3 separate regions of the Homo sapiens genome follow, and regions 1 and 2 are each linked to region 3. The links are contacts of gene promoters, found by promoter capture Hi-C in blood cells and fetal thymus (Javierre and others, 2016). All regions are on one chromosome and are shown on one strand. The core of a region is centred on a gene start or on the middle of the fragment in contact, and the rest is flanking DNA. Distances in the headings are between cores, read along the strand shown.

Evidence for each region. The method cuts DNA at HindIII sites, captures the fragments that hold promoters and counts their contacts. A CHiCAGO score of 5 or more calls a contact.
Region 1: a contact is called between a fragment that was not itself captured here and the fragment with the promoter of CNTFR in region 3, in 3 of 17 cell types (erythroblasts, M2 macrophages and total CD8 T cells). The highest score is 5.8, in erythroblasts.
Region 2: a contact is called between a fragment that was not itself captured here and the fragment with the promoter of CNTFR in region 3, in 4 of 17 cell types (erythroblasts, endothelial precursors, M1 macrophages and 1 more). The highest score is 6.5, in erythroblasts.

Annotation. Positions count from the first base shown.
Region 1 is chr9:34,443,414-34,447,313 of GRCh38, forward strand. All of the region lies in intron 1 of FAM219A (family with sequence similarity 219 member A), which reads right to left. Among named protein-coding and RNA genes, the nearest start is that of FAM219A, 13 kb to the right of the region's middle. The HindIII fragment of the contact is 2,504 bases long and covers 1,067-3,570 here.
Region 2 is chr9:34,418,929-34,422,581 of GRCh38, forward strand. The region is part of intron 1 of FAM219A (family with sequence similarity 219 member A); the gene reads right to left. All of the region lies in intron 1 of LOC124902145 (a long non-coding RNA gene), which reads left to right. Among named protein-coding and RNA genes, the nearest start is that of SPMIP6, 23 kb to the left of the region's middle. The HindIII fragment of the contact is 2,893 bases long and covers 788-3,653 here.
Region 3 is chr9:34,587,896-34,591,598 of GRCh38, forward strand. CNTFR (ciliary neurotrophic factor receptor) reads right to left here and starts at 1,829. Exons shown (of 10, transcript NM_147164.3): 1 at 1,660-1,829. The HindIII fragment of the contact is 17,004 bases long and covers 1-3,703 here.

The DNA of each region.
Region 1 (3,900 bases), core at 1,069-3,568, 140 kb before region 3:
CTCACCACAGCCCTGTCAAGGAGGCCAAAGACTCTTCTCATTTGGTGATGAGAAGAATAACCCATCTCCTCACTCTCTCCCACAAAAGTTCCCTTGGGAATTACAGACAGAAAAAGAAAATCAGCAACCCTTTCATTATCATCAACCCTTAGACCAGAAATAATATAGTAATTTGCAGCTCATTTTCACATACATGATCTTATTTATTTTACAAATGCCTGAAAGCGGTTAGGAGGCTGGCCAAAGGTCATAACAAAAGTGATAGTAGCTAGGATATACCCAGCCTACTTACCACTGCTGTGCACAGCTCCTGCCCTCAGGCCCGTGCCCCCCACTGGCTTATCCTAATTTCCCCACCCCCTCAAGCATACTCAAACCAATTCCTCCTGTGGGAGCTTCCTGTGACTGTCTCTCTGCTGTATCAGAGCCCATGGCAAATGAAGGATGTGAAATATGAGATTCCATCAGGAAGTTGATAGGGAGGCTAACAGATGGTCAAATCTTGGTTCTGACTGGTTCCCTTTGGTACCAATGTCTGCTACATTAAATACCAACCCTCAACTTGGTCTCCCTCCCTGACTCCACATAATTCTCCCTCCCCTTCCCTAAACCACTAGCTACTACCACTTCCCCATATCATTATCCCCACTTGGCCTTTCACTGAGTCCTCTAGGCCAGAGCTGGATGCAGCATGTCAGCTGAGAGCAGAGAGGACTTTCTGGAAGCTAAAATCCTCAGGGAACAGCTTTGGCATTCATAGGAGAACCAGTGGAGGCCCCTTTCACCAGCTGCTGCAATTTGCCTGCCAATGTGGCTACTGGCTTTCCCACCAGAGGCAAGTCTGTCCCCAGAGAGAATGACCTATACATTTGGGTTTTGTGGTAAGGAGAAACCTATGCCTGATACACCAAGAACAGGACATCCAGGCTGGCACTCTTCCTTTCCTCCAAGATCCCCAGAGACTTTCTCCATTTCCAGGAGGATGTGTACAGGTCATATAATGTTGGAAGACTCAGGTAGGAGCTCTTCATCAGCAAAACTAAGTTTTTTCCTCATTAAATATTAAAGCTTACAACTCCATTAATAGCTTCTCCAGCCCCCACAACAAAGCTGACGGCACAGTTATCAGCTCTGCTACCAATGGGAGAGGGGCTGGATTGGCCTTCTTACATTATTCTACGTCCCTTACTTCTGAAAATGTACCTAATGCTGCAAAGGGAGAAGATGGGAAAAGGCCAATTTGTAAGGAACTCAGATTGCTAACTCAGCTAGGGACCCCTGCCCACTGGGGAGCCAGGAGCACGTCACTCCTTGTAAGAACAAAATCCTTCTCATCCTGTGGTCTGAGTTCAAACATCACTTTCTCATAGCAGCCTTACCTGACATCCACAAGAGAATAATTTATTATTCTCTCTTTTCCTACTGCATTTCTTGCCTTTTCTATCACTTGTCATAGTTGGTAATTGTGTTTGTGCACTTTGTTTAGTATCTGTCTCTCCTACTGGATTGCCAGCTTATGAAGGTAGGTACCATGTTTGCTTTATTCATCATTTTACTTCCTATGTTTGGCTCAGTGTCTTGCATATAGCAGATGCTCAAAAGATGTTATTTGAATAATGAATGAATGTCCCATCCCTGTATTCCCCTGAATCTCCCTTAATTCCCCAACATGTGGCTTCCACTCTACTAATTCTCACCTACTCATCCCCCTCTAGGTCTTTGCTGTTCCCCTCCTTAGAATAACCTCCCAACCTCCTCTCCTTTCCACTCTTACTCATCTTTAAAGGAGCCAGCTGTATTCTTCTGTAGTTCTGTTTCATAAGAGCAAGTATCTTCTTCACCAGTCTGTAAGTTCTAGAGGTAGAAGCTATCTTGTCAAGGAGATCAAAGGGGAGTTGGGGTGACAAGACTCACAGCACATTAAAGTGGACACCCTAAACCAGAATATCATTTGTATAAAATTATGTGCTAGAGGTTATAGAGGCTTAGGGATTGGTTAAGAGCTCACTAGAATATTCAGGGAAAGCTCTCTGAAGAATGGGAGTTTATATTGATCTCTGAAGAATGTGTATGAGTGAAATGGGCAGAAGAGAATTGTTAAGAGGAGAGGAGGCCTCAAGGTGCCAATAGGTGAAAGAAGGTGAAGGACATGGCTGGACTTACTAGAAAGAAAGTTGGCTTGAATGGTAGCAAGTATGGCCAGCTTTGAGGGGTAAAAGCCTAGTGTAGATGCCTCAAAAGCCAGTGGAGAAGTTCAAGCCTGATGTAGAAGAACTTAATTGGGTTCCAAGTTGCGAAGGAGGGTCTAATCTAGGCCACGCCAACCTCCAGCTGGGTAGTGGCTAAGCCTGTTTACCTTTCTGGGAGTCTGCTTGCAGATCTATAAAGTGGGCAAAATGATTTTCCTAATCTGCTTAATGAGATGGTTCAGGTGCTTTGGAAACATCTTTTCACCTACCTTAAAAAGGAATTAAAGATAGGCTGGGTGCAGTGGCTCATGCCTGTAATCCCAGCACTTTGGGAGTCCGAGGCAAGAAGATCACTTGAAGTCAGGAGTTTAAGACCAGCCTAGCCAACATGGTGAAACCATCTCTACTAAAAATACAAAAATTAGCTGGGTGTGGTGGTGTGCACCTGTACTCTCAGCTACTCGGAAGGCTGAGGCAGAAGAATTGCTTGAACCTGGGAGGCAGAGGCTGCAGTGAGCCAAGATTGTGCCACTGCACTCCAGCCTGGGCAACAGAGCGAGACTCTGTCTCAAAAAAAAAAAAAAAATGCGGGGCGGGGGGAATTAAAGATAGGGATAAGACACTGTACCCATAAACTTTACACAATGACAAGGTATTAGGGCCACAGGACAGGTAAATGGAGAGCTCACATCTCACTGAAGGATAGAAAGGGATGCATGAAGAAGATGGTGCTTTTGTGACAGGCCTTGATATATACAAAACATTAGCAAACACCTATTCTCAGAAAACTAGAAAAGTGCTGCTTGTGCTAAGTTCCACAGTGGATTCTTGGACACGTTTATAGTACACACACATAACAGAGCCATGTTTACTGCTAGAATATTATTCCTAGCACCTACTTTGGAAGGACTAGGACATTTGCACAGAGCAGTGTGTCTTCCTGGTGCCCTGGCCTCTGGCCCAGTTTAAGAACTGATACCATAGAGAATGTGAGGTAAGAACACATTCACATTCCCACCATGGCTCTGGTTCTCCCTGTGAAGCTACAGATAACATGAAGACTATCCTCCTTTTCTTTCCTAATCCCAGTCCTTTAGGTATTTGAAAACCTCAAAATGCTTTCTCTGAGACTGCTTATTCATAGGCCAAACAGCTCAGTTCTTCTAACTATTCTCACATGACATGCTTTTGACTCCTTTCATTATTCTAGTCACCCAATCTCTTGAATGATGATATCAGTACAGAATGGAGGACTTCAGATGGTGATGACCACTACAGAATAGGGCAGAGTAGGATGATTACCTCCTAGGAACTGAATTCCATGCTTCTATTAATGTAGTCCAACAGCACATTAGCTTTGTTATATAGTGGACTTATATTAAGCTTTCTGTCCACTCAAGCACTAGCTCGCTTTAAAGGTCCCTACCTTCTCCAATCACACAGCCTCCCTAGATTCCTATTGAAATTCTGTCTTGCTGAATTCAGCCAGCTACCTTTCTGAGAATAAGAGTCACATGACACACATGTAGTGTAGTTTCTAACAAATGTGGAACCATCATCTCACTATCCTCAGTGGACTCTTAACCTGTATTGGCAGTAAGCCTAGCTCAAGATGTGATTCCAGGTTCTTGCCTTGATTTTACACTGCTAAGGGAAAGGGCTGCTCTGTTCCAGATATGTTCTGAGTTCAATATAACAATAGGTATGGTTA
Region 2 (3,653 bases), core at 984-3,483, 170 kb before region 3:
GCCAGGTGTAGTGTTGCACACCTGTTACCCCAACTACTCAGGAGGCTGAGGTAGGAGAATCTATTGAACCTGGGAGGCAGAGGTTGCAGTGAGCCAAGATTGCACCACTGCACTCCAACTTGGGTGATAGAGCAAGACTCTGTCTCAAACAAACAAACAAACAAACAAACAAACAAAGCCCCATGATGGTTAAAATGGTAACTTTTATGTTATGCATATTCTAATACAATTTTTTTTTAAAAAAATTGAGAAGCAGGACCTAGGCAGCAAAATAAGAAGGTGTGTGGTGGGCAGTGGGGAGGAGGCAGTCCCTTCCCTTTTCATATTCAGATTCAGACAACACAGACTTTTGGGGATGAGGCCTTTCATAGGAGAGGGAAAATTATTCTAAGACCAGGGGAGTTGGACGGGGCTGGGGATTTGGGGTTGGGTTTCTGGGGGCTTTCTACTTGAGGTGCCCCTTAGACAGGGCCCAGAGGACAGGAAGATGGCAAGGTTGTTCAAGGTTAACAGCGCTTTAGGGAGCACAGTCCAGAGGATCTTTCAGTTTCCTTCTAGAATGTGGATTCCAGTTCTTCAAGATAAGGGAGGAGGCATAGACACTGAGGAGAATACTGCCCAGGAATCAGTACAAGACATGTGGTTGGAGACTCCTTGAGAGCCCCACACCTGGTAGGAAGCAGAAGCAGGAGAAATGCCAGCAGACACTGACATTTGTCTGGGCCAGATTGACGTGTGGATTCTTGTCTGAATCTTGGCCCCAAATCTCACTTAAGGCTTTTTAGTAAGCTTCAATTACTCAAGGAACTGAGCCTGGCCTGCACTGGTTCATAAATCTTTGGGGCTCCTTGATTTGCAGGAAAGCAAAGTAATTGGCAGAGTCTATGGGATTTCTTCCCTCTGGCCTTGGAAGAATAAGGACCAACTTGTCTGCAATGGACAATGGACTTGGAGGGCTAGTATCAAATAGCTTTTCCTCTCTGTGGCATTTCCTGTCGCTGCCCTTCCTCTCCTTTTTAGCTTGTTCTAAGTCTCTAACCCCCATTATGCCTGGCAGGCACTACTCTTTGCCCACAAAGATAATTTGCAGCTCTAAAGCTCAGCTCTCTAGCCAGAGCAGTCTCCTAGTCTTTCCTTTTTGTCATCCCAATAATTAAACATTGGTGAACTTGCCACTTGTTCAGAACTTTGATAATCACTGAACCCCAACAAGGGGGAGGGCACAATGTACACTGGGGAGGGAAAAACACCAAGCCCTGGTTCTTGCCAAGAAGAATTTAAAAGTGCAGAGATGACAGGCACACAGATCAGCCTATTTAAGGAAGAGAGAGGAACAGCAGAGGCAGGAATGCATGGAGGGTGGTAGGAGCACAGAGGAGAGCGATAATGGTAGCGATATTATCTTCTCTGACATACAAGATTGGGCCTGGGCAGGAGCCAGGTTAAAGTGGAGACCTGGCTATTGGTCACTGGGTACTTTGGCAGAGGGTTTAAAGCAACTACTGGTGAAGCTCTGCCCTGGGGGCTAGGACTCTACTTTTCGTTGCTGCTGATGTAGTTCCTACCCTGCCACAGGGCACTCACTTACTCCCCACCTCATTTTGGGGGGTCATTTGCAGCAGGACCTTTTCCTTTACCATTGAGATAAACAGATAACCCAAAGGAAGGGTCAAGAGGCTCTAGGTGGGTGGCTGGAAAGGGTTTTTATTAAGAAGGCAATCAGGGACTGAGAGTCCTGTCCTAAGAGTGCTTAAGAAAGAGAAAGACCAGGCGTGGTGGCTCATGAGCCTGTAATCTCAGCACTTCAGGAGGCTGAGGTGGGAGGATTGCTTGAGCCCAGGAGTTCAAGACGAGTCTGGGCAACAAAGTGAGACCCCATCTCTACAAAAAAGAAAAAAAAACTTAGCCGGGTGTGGTAGCATGTGCTTGTGGACCCAGCTACTTGGGAACCTGAGGCAGGAGGATCACTTGAGCCTGAGAAGTTGAGGCTGCAGTGAGCTGTGATCACACCACTGCACTCCAGCCTGGGTGACAGAGTGAAACTCGTGTGTGTGTGTGTGTGTATGTGTGTGTGTGTGTGTGAGAGAGAGAGAGAGAGAGAGAGAGAGAGAGAGAGAATGGCTCTGCTGAAACAAATTTTGCTGCATCCAGCCAAGCCTAGGGCCTGCAGTCACTCTCACAAGGCCTGTTCCGTGCAGCAGGGAGGTCAGGGCTGAGGGGCCCATAGAGGCCTGGGGGCCAGCCTGGGGTCAAGCAGGTCAGAGAGGGGAAGGGGAGGGTTAACCCTACTTATGAACTCCCATCTGAGTCTCCCAAGAGAAGAAAGTTCATGTGTGTGTGTTATAGGGGTGTGTGTGTGCCAGCTGGGGGTACAGAGGTAAGGAGGGGAGATTGTAGAGTAACACCAACTCAGGGTGTGTTTTTAGGGGTGAGGCTAGCCAGTTGCTGGTTATGCATCTCCATGGAAAACAATACTCAACTGCTAAGCTAGATGGTCCTAGGATACTTGCAGGAACGTCTCTGCAGGCTCAGGGCAGTAGAGAGCCTTTGCCTGCCCACCTGTCACTCCCTGGCTGGTGCAGTGACACTTACCGGCTAACTCATACTCAAGGCATCAATAGGAAGGGGTACCACCTCGTACTCCAGGCATCAATAGGAAAGGCCGCTGAAACAGCAAATGACCAACATTTCCCAAAGAGCCCCCTACAGCTCTACAACCCACATCTCTGAGGACACTTCCTCTTCTCTGAGTACACCCCCCTGCCACAGCCTCCCCCACCCCCATACAACCTCTACCTCTTCTAGACAGCTGACACACCTGCACTGTCTCAACCCTCCACCCCTGCTGAACCCATCTGTGCCCCTAGGACAGTGTTTCTTCATATATTAATGTGCATAGAAATCATCTGGGCATATTATTTAAATGCAGATTCTGATTCAGTAGGTCTGGAACCTGAATTGTCAGCATTTCATATTAGCTCCCAGGTGGTACCAATGCTGTTAATACAGCGACCACACTTGGAATAGTGTGGCTCTAGGCCAGCCTCTCTACGCCCACACCATCCCCAGACAGCCTCTCAAAGAGCCCTCCACCCTGACCTTAACCTGGTTACATTCCTAGTGGCAAGAGGGAACAATAGTCTGGGAAGAGAGGAGAGAAGAGGAGGGACTTCTCAAAGCTCACGTTGGGGAGGCAGCTCTACTAAGAACTCTGGCTGGATCCAGGCAGGGAGTTGTTCGGAACAATTTAGCCCAGGTGTAGTTCTTCCAAAACTCATCCAGTCATTTAGTTAATGTTGCTTAAATACCTGCCAGAGGTACGGCCATGGTGCTAAGTGCTTTATCTATATTATTTCATTGAATCCTCCCCAAAACCAAGTAAGGCAAATATCATTTTCATTTTAAAATTGAAGAACTAGGTTGCATAAAGTAATATGTCCAAAGTCACACCTGGTAGGCAATTTGAATCTAATTTCCTCATCTCTCTTACCCCAGCCCCTTCTCAGAGACTTAGATAAAGTCATGAGATTAACAACGTACCAGAACTTACACCTCTGTGGGACTGTTGTCTTGCAAAGCAGTCACTTGGAAGGCTGGTACCTAGTTCAATCATGTCTCTGGAGCTCAACACAAACTTGTAGCCCCTCTTTAGA
Region 3 (3,703 bases), core at 579-3,078:
TTCCAATGTGAGTCTATGTGGAAACTCCAGGACTGAAGTGTATCCCTGGATATGAGCCCCACAACGTAAGTGTCAGTCCATATGAATGTAAGCCCCTAGACCCTAGAAGGAGCTGAAGTGTCCCAGTGTGCATCTGAGTATGGATTCCAGAGCCCCCAGAAGTCCTGTGCATGAACTTTAAACTCCTAGTCTTTGTGTAGGCTCAGGGTCTCAGTTGGAGTATCAGCCCTGACAGTGTGAACCTTAGCTCTATCTCACCAATGCTGACCAGGAGCCCCTGGCACCAGCTGAGAGGATTTGTGTGGGTTGTGACAGTGGAGACAGAGAGGCATAGTTTGAGACACCTAGGCCCTTCTAGCCCCCAAGTCATTGCTAGCCCTACATCCCTGGGAATCTGCAATGGTTCAAGCCCCATTCCCACACGTGTAATGACACACCATCACACCCAGAGTTAGATACACAAAAATACACCTGGTGTTTCAGGCCCCTCGGACACACAGCAATTACAGATGCACAGACACACCCAGCATTTCACACTCGCACCACCTCAGTGACCACAGCCACACAAACACTCCCAGTGACACAGACACAAATTCACCAAGTATTACAGGCAGAACAACTAGTGTTAGAGACACACTCCTACAGCGGCATGCAGACACACACCCAATGTTGCAGACAAGCTGCCAGGCACACAGACACACACAGACGCTTCTCAAAAAGAGAGACTAGACGGAAAGAAAGAAAATCCTGAATTTTCAACAAGGCGTGAAATAGTCCTGCCCGCCTGAAGCTACTGGAGGGGGGAGGGGGACAAGGGAGCGAGCAAGCGAGCGAGCTAACGCTGGAGGAGAGGCTCGGGAGAGGAGAGGAGCCGAGAGGGAGAGCTGTCCGTCTGGTGACCTCCCCACGGCCCAGCCCCCACGCACGCGGAGATACACTACTCGGAGCAACACAGGGACACCCAGACTGGCTCACACTGAGCCGCACTGGAGGAGACACACACGAGCAGACTCACAAAGAGACACTTGGGGATACACCATAGGCAGACTCGCACAAGCCAGGAAGACTTACAAAGAGACACACTGGAGGAGACCCACTACATGGAGATACATCCAGGCGGACTGAAGAGAAAACCATGGGGACGCCGACCGACACACACATGCACACACACACGCGCGCGCGGGCGCGCGGATTCACACGGACACACATGCACTGGCAGACGCGCAACCGTCGGTTCGCATCCCCGGGCGCTTTGAAGTCCAGATTTCTGCCCGAGAAAGAAGCCACCTTTGGGCGCGCAAAGGCCACTACGAACCTCCCCAAACCCAGGAATTTTTCCAGACCCCGCGCGTGCAGCTGAGGGGTGGGGAGAACAGGGACACTAGGACAAACCGCCGGAGCCACCTCCCTCTAGTCCACAGTCGGCCCCACCACCACCACCACGCCCAACCCCCGGAGCGCCCGGACGTGGGGGGCCGCTCCTCCAGCGCCCCCGCCCCCGAGTTTGCAGGCAAAGTTTCTCGTGAACTTTCCTGTCGCCCCCGTCCGTGGGCCCACGGGTGTCCCCTCACTCTTCCCGCACGCATGAGGGCCGCCGGTCTGCTGGTCAGCCCGGGCTCTGAGGGTCCGGCCGCGCGCACTCCGCCGCAGGGTACTCACCGCGCCCTCGGGCCACCCGGGCTTCGCGCCGCGCCTTCCGACCGCCCCCGGCAGCGAGCGAGGCAGGGAGCGCGGAGCTAGCACCGCCCGCCGGATCCCACCGCCGAGCCTCGCGCCGCGCCGGCTGGAGCCGCCGCCTCCGCTGCCGCCGCCGCCGCCGCCCGCTCTGCACCGGCTCTTCAGCGCTCGGCGGCTTTAACCCCCCCATCCTCCTCCCTCCCTCGCGCGCTCCCTCCCTCCTTCTCTCGCCCATGTGACCGCGGGCGCCCGCTCGGCCGCGCGCGCCCTCGCTCCCCTCCCCCTCTTGCCTTGTCTCCCCGCGCCTCCGCGGCCGCGCGCCACGACCCCTCCCCGCCACGGGCCCCGCGCGCCCCCGCCTTGGCACGCTCTCGCTCCTGGCACACGCGGTCCGCTCGCCCTGCGCGGGCCTGTGAGCCCCCACTCCCACTCGCCCAGCACTGGCACGCGCTCTGCCCCCCCGCTGGCACACTCGTCCGCACTGGCACGCGTGGCCCCCTCGCGTTCACCCTTTCTCGGGCGCGCCCTCAAGACGGCTGTGGTCCCCGTGCTTCACGCGCAGCCCCGGCCGCGGGTCTCGCAAACGCGCGCGCGCACACACACACACACACACACCCACTCGGCCCGCTCCCCTAGGGCGGCTGGGCGCGCACTCACCCCCGGGATCGCTCCTTCACACTCACTCTCCCTCTCGGCCTTAGCCAGGTCTCTCCTGCGCACACTCCCGCACGTTCAGGCCCTGACGGCCTCGCACCGACTCCCTGGCACACCCCGGGCCAACTCTCGGGGTCCTCCCTCCGGCGTCGCCGTGAGAGGAACGCGAGCCAGAACCCCCAACCCCCACTTTGGGCAGAAGAAGCCAGCCGGCTCCGCCTCTCCCCTATTGCTACTGCCCCCCGCAACGACTCCCCTCCCGGTCACCCCCTCGCGCGGGGGAAAGGGGCTTCCTTGACCGGGGATGGACCCTGCCGGGAGCCCAGGCCCATGCCTCCAGTGTCTCCGATGACACCAACACCACTACTCGCATGTTCCTCGCGCCCCGAGGACACACAGCCGGGGGAGAAGCCTCCACTGGAATGAAGGGGTAGGGAGGGTGCACTCTCAATGCCGGGCACAGGCGCACCCCTCGATAGGAGGCTCACTCCCTTCGCAGCCTGGGCCTCTGAGGGGCCGGGGTGTTCACTGCACTCGTCCCTGGGCCTCCGGTCTGGCTGCAACATAGGAGAGTAAGGTTGGACAACCTGACCAACTTCTGAGGCCACGTGAAAGCGCAATGGAGTGGCAATGGCAGAGGCAGAGACCGAGAAAGCCACCCCCGTCTCCACCCCTTGGATTTGTCACCTGACCCTTGACCCATAATCCTGGGCCCTGCCCCTCCGGGGAGCTGCTCTAGGGCTGAGGGCGAGGAGAAGGGAGGGAAATGTCTCCATGTTTCCTCACATCCTTCCCCAGTAGGCTGCCTAGAGCGCCCGGGCCCTTTCCCAACAAATGCCTCAGGGACTCCCACTGCAGAGGAAAATCCTTCTTCCCGCCACGGCCTGGGCTTTTCACTTTCACTTCCGTGGCCACAGAATCCCCTTCCTACAACTGGCAGGGGTCGGCATGGGCTGGAGCTCAGAGACGGCCAGCTAGGACTTCAGGACACACAGCAAACTAGCTGCGCCCCGCTGAGGGTCAGCGCACAGCCGCCCACACAAGGTGTCCTCTCCCCGGGCTCTCTGGGCCGCCGGCCTCCTGCTTCCCGTGCCGCAGACCGGGATTAGACTGTGGACGCGGGGAAGGAAGGGGGCGTTGCGACGGGATCTTGAGGGGAGCAGGACTTGCCCCTGCCCCTGCGGCGAAGCTCTAGGCCCTGGCAAGGTTCGGTACACCGGGGGCCGCTCCTCCCCAGGGGGCTGACCGGCCTCGGCGCTCTAATCCGGCCGGGGAGGGGCGGACGGGGTGAAAATTGGCGAGTGGTTTGGGGAACGGACTTGACCTCCAGATGCCCTGGTGTCCCTGGCTCAGCCTCTTTCTGCCAGGTTGG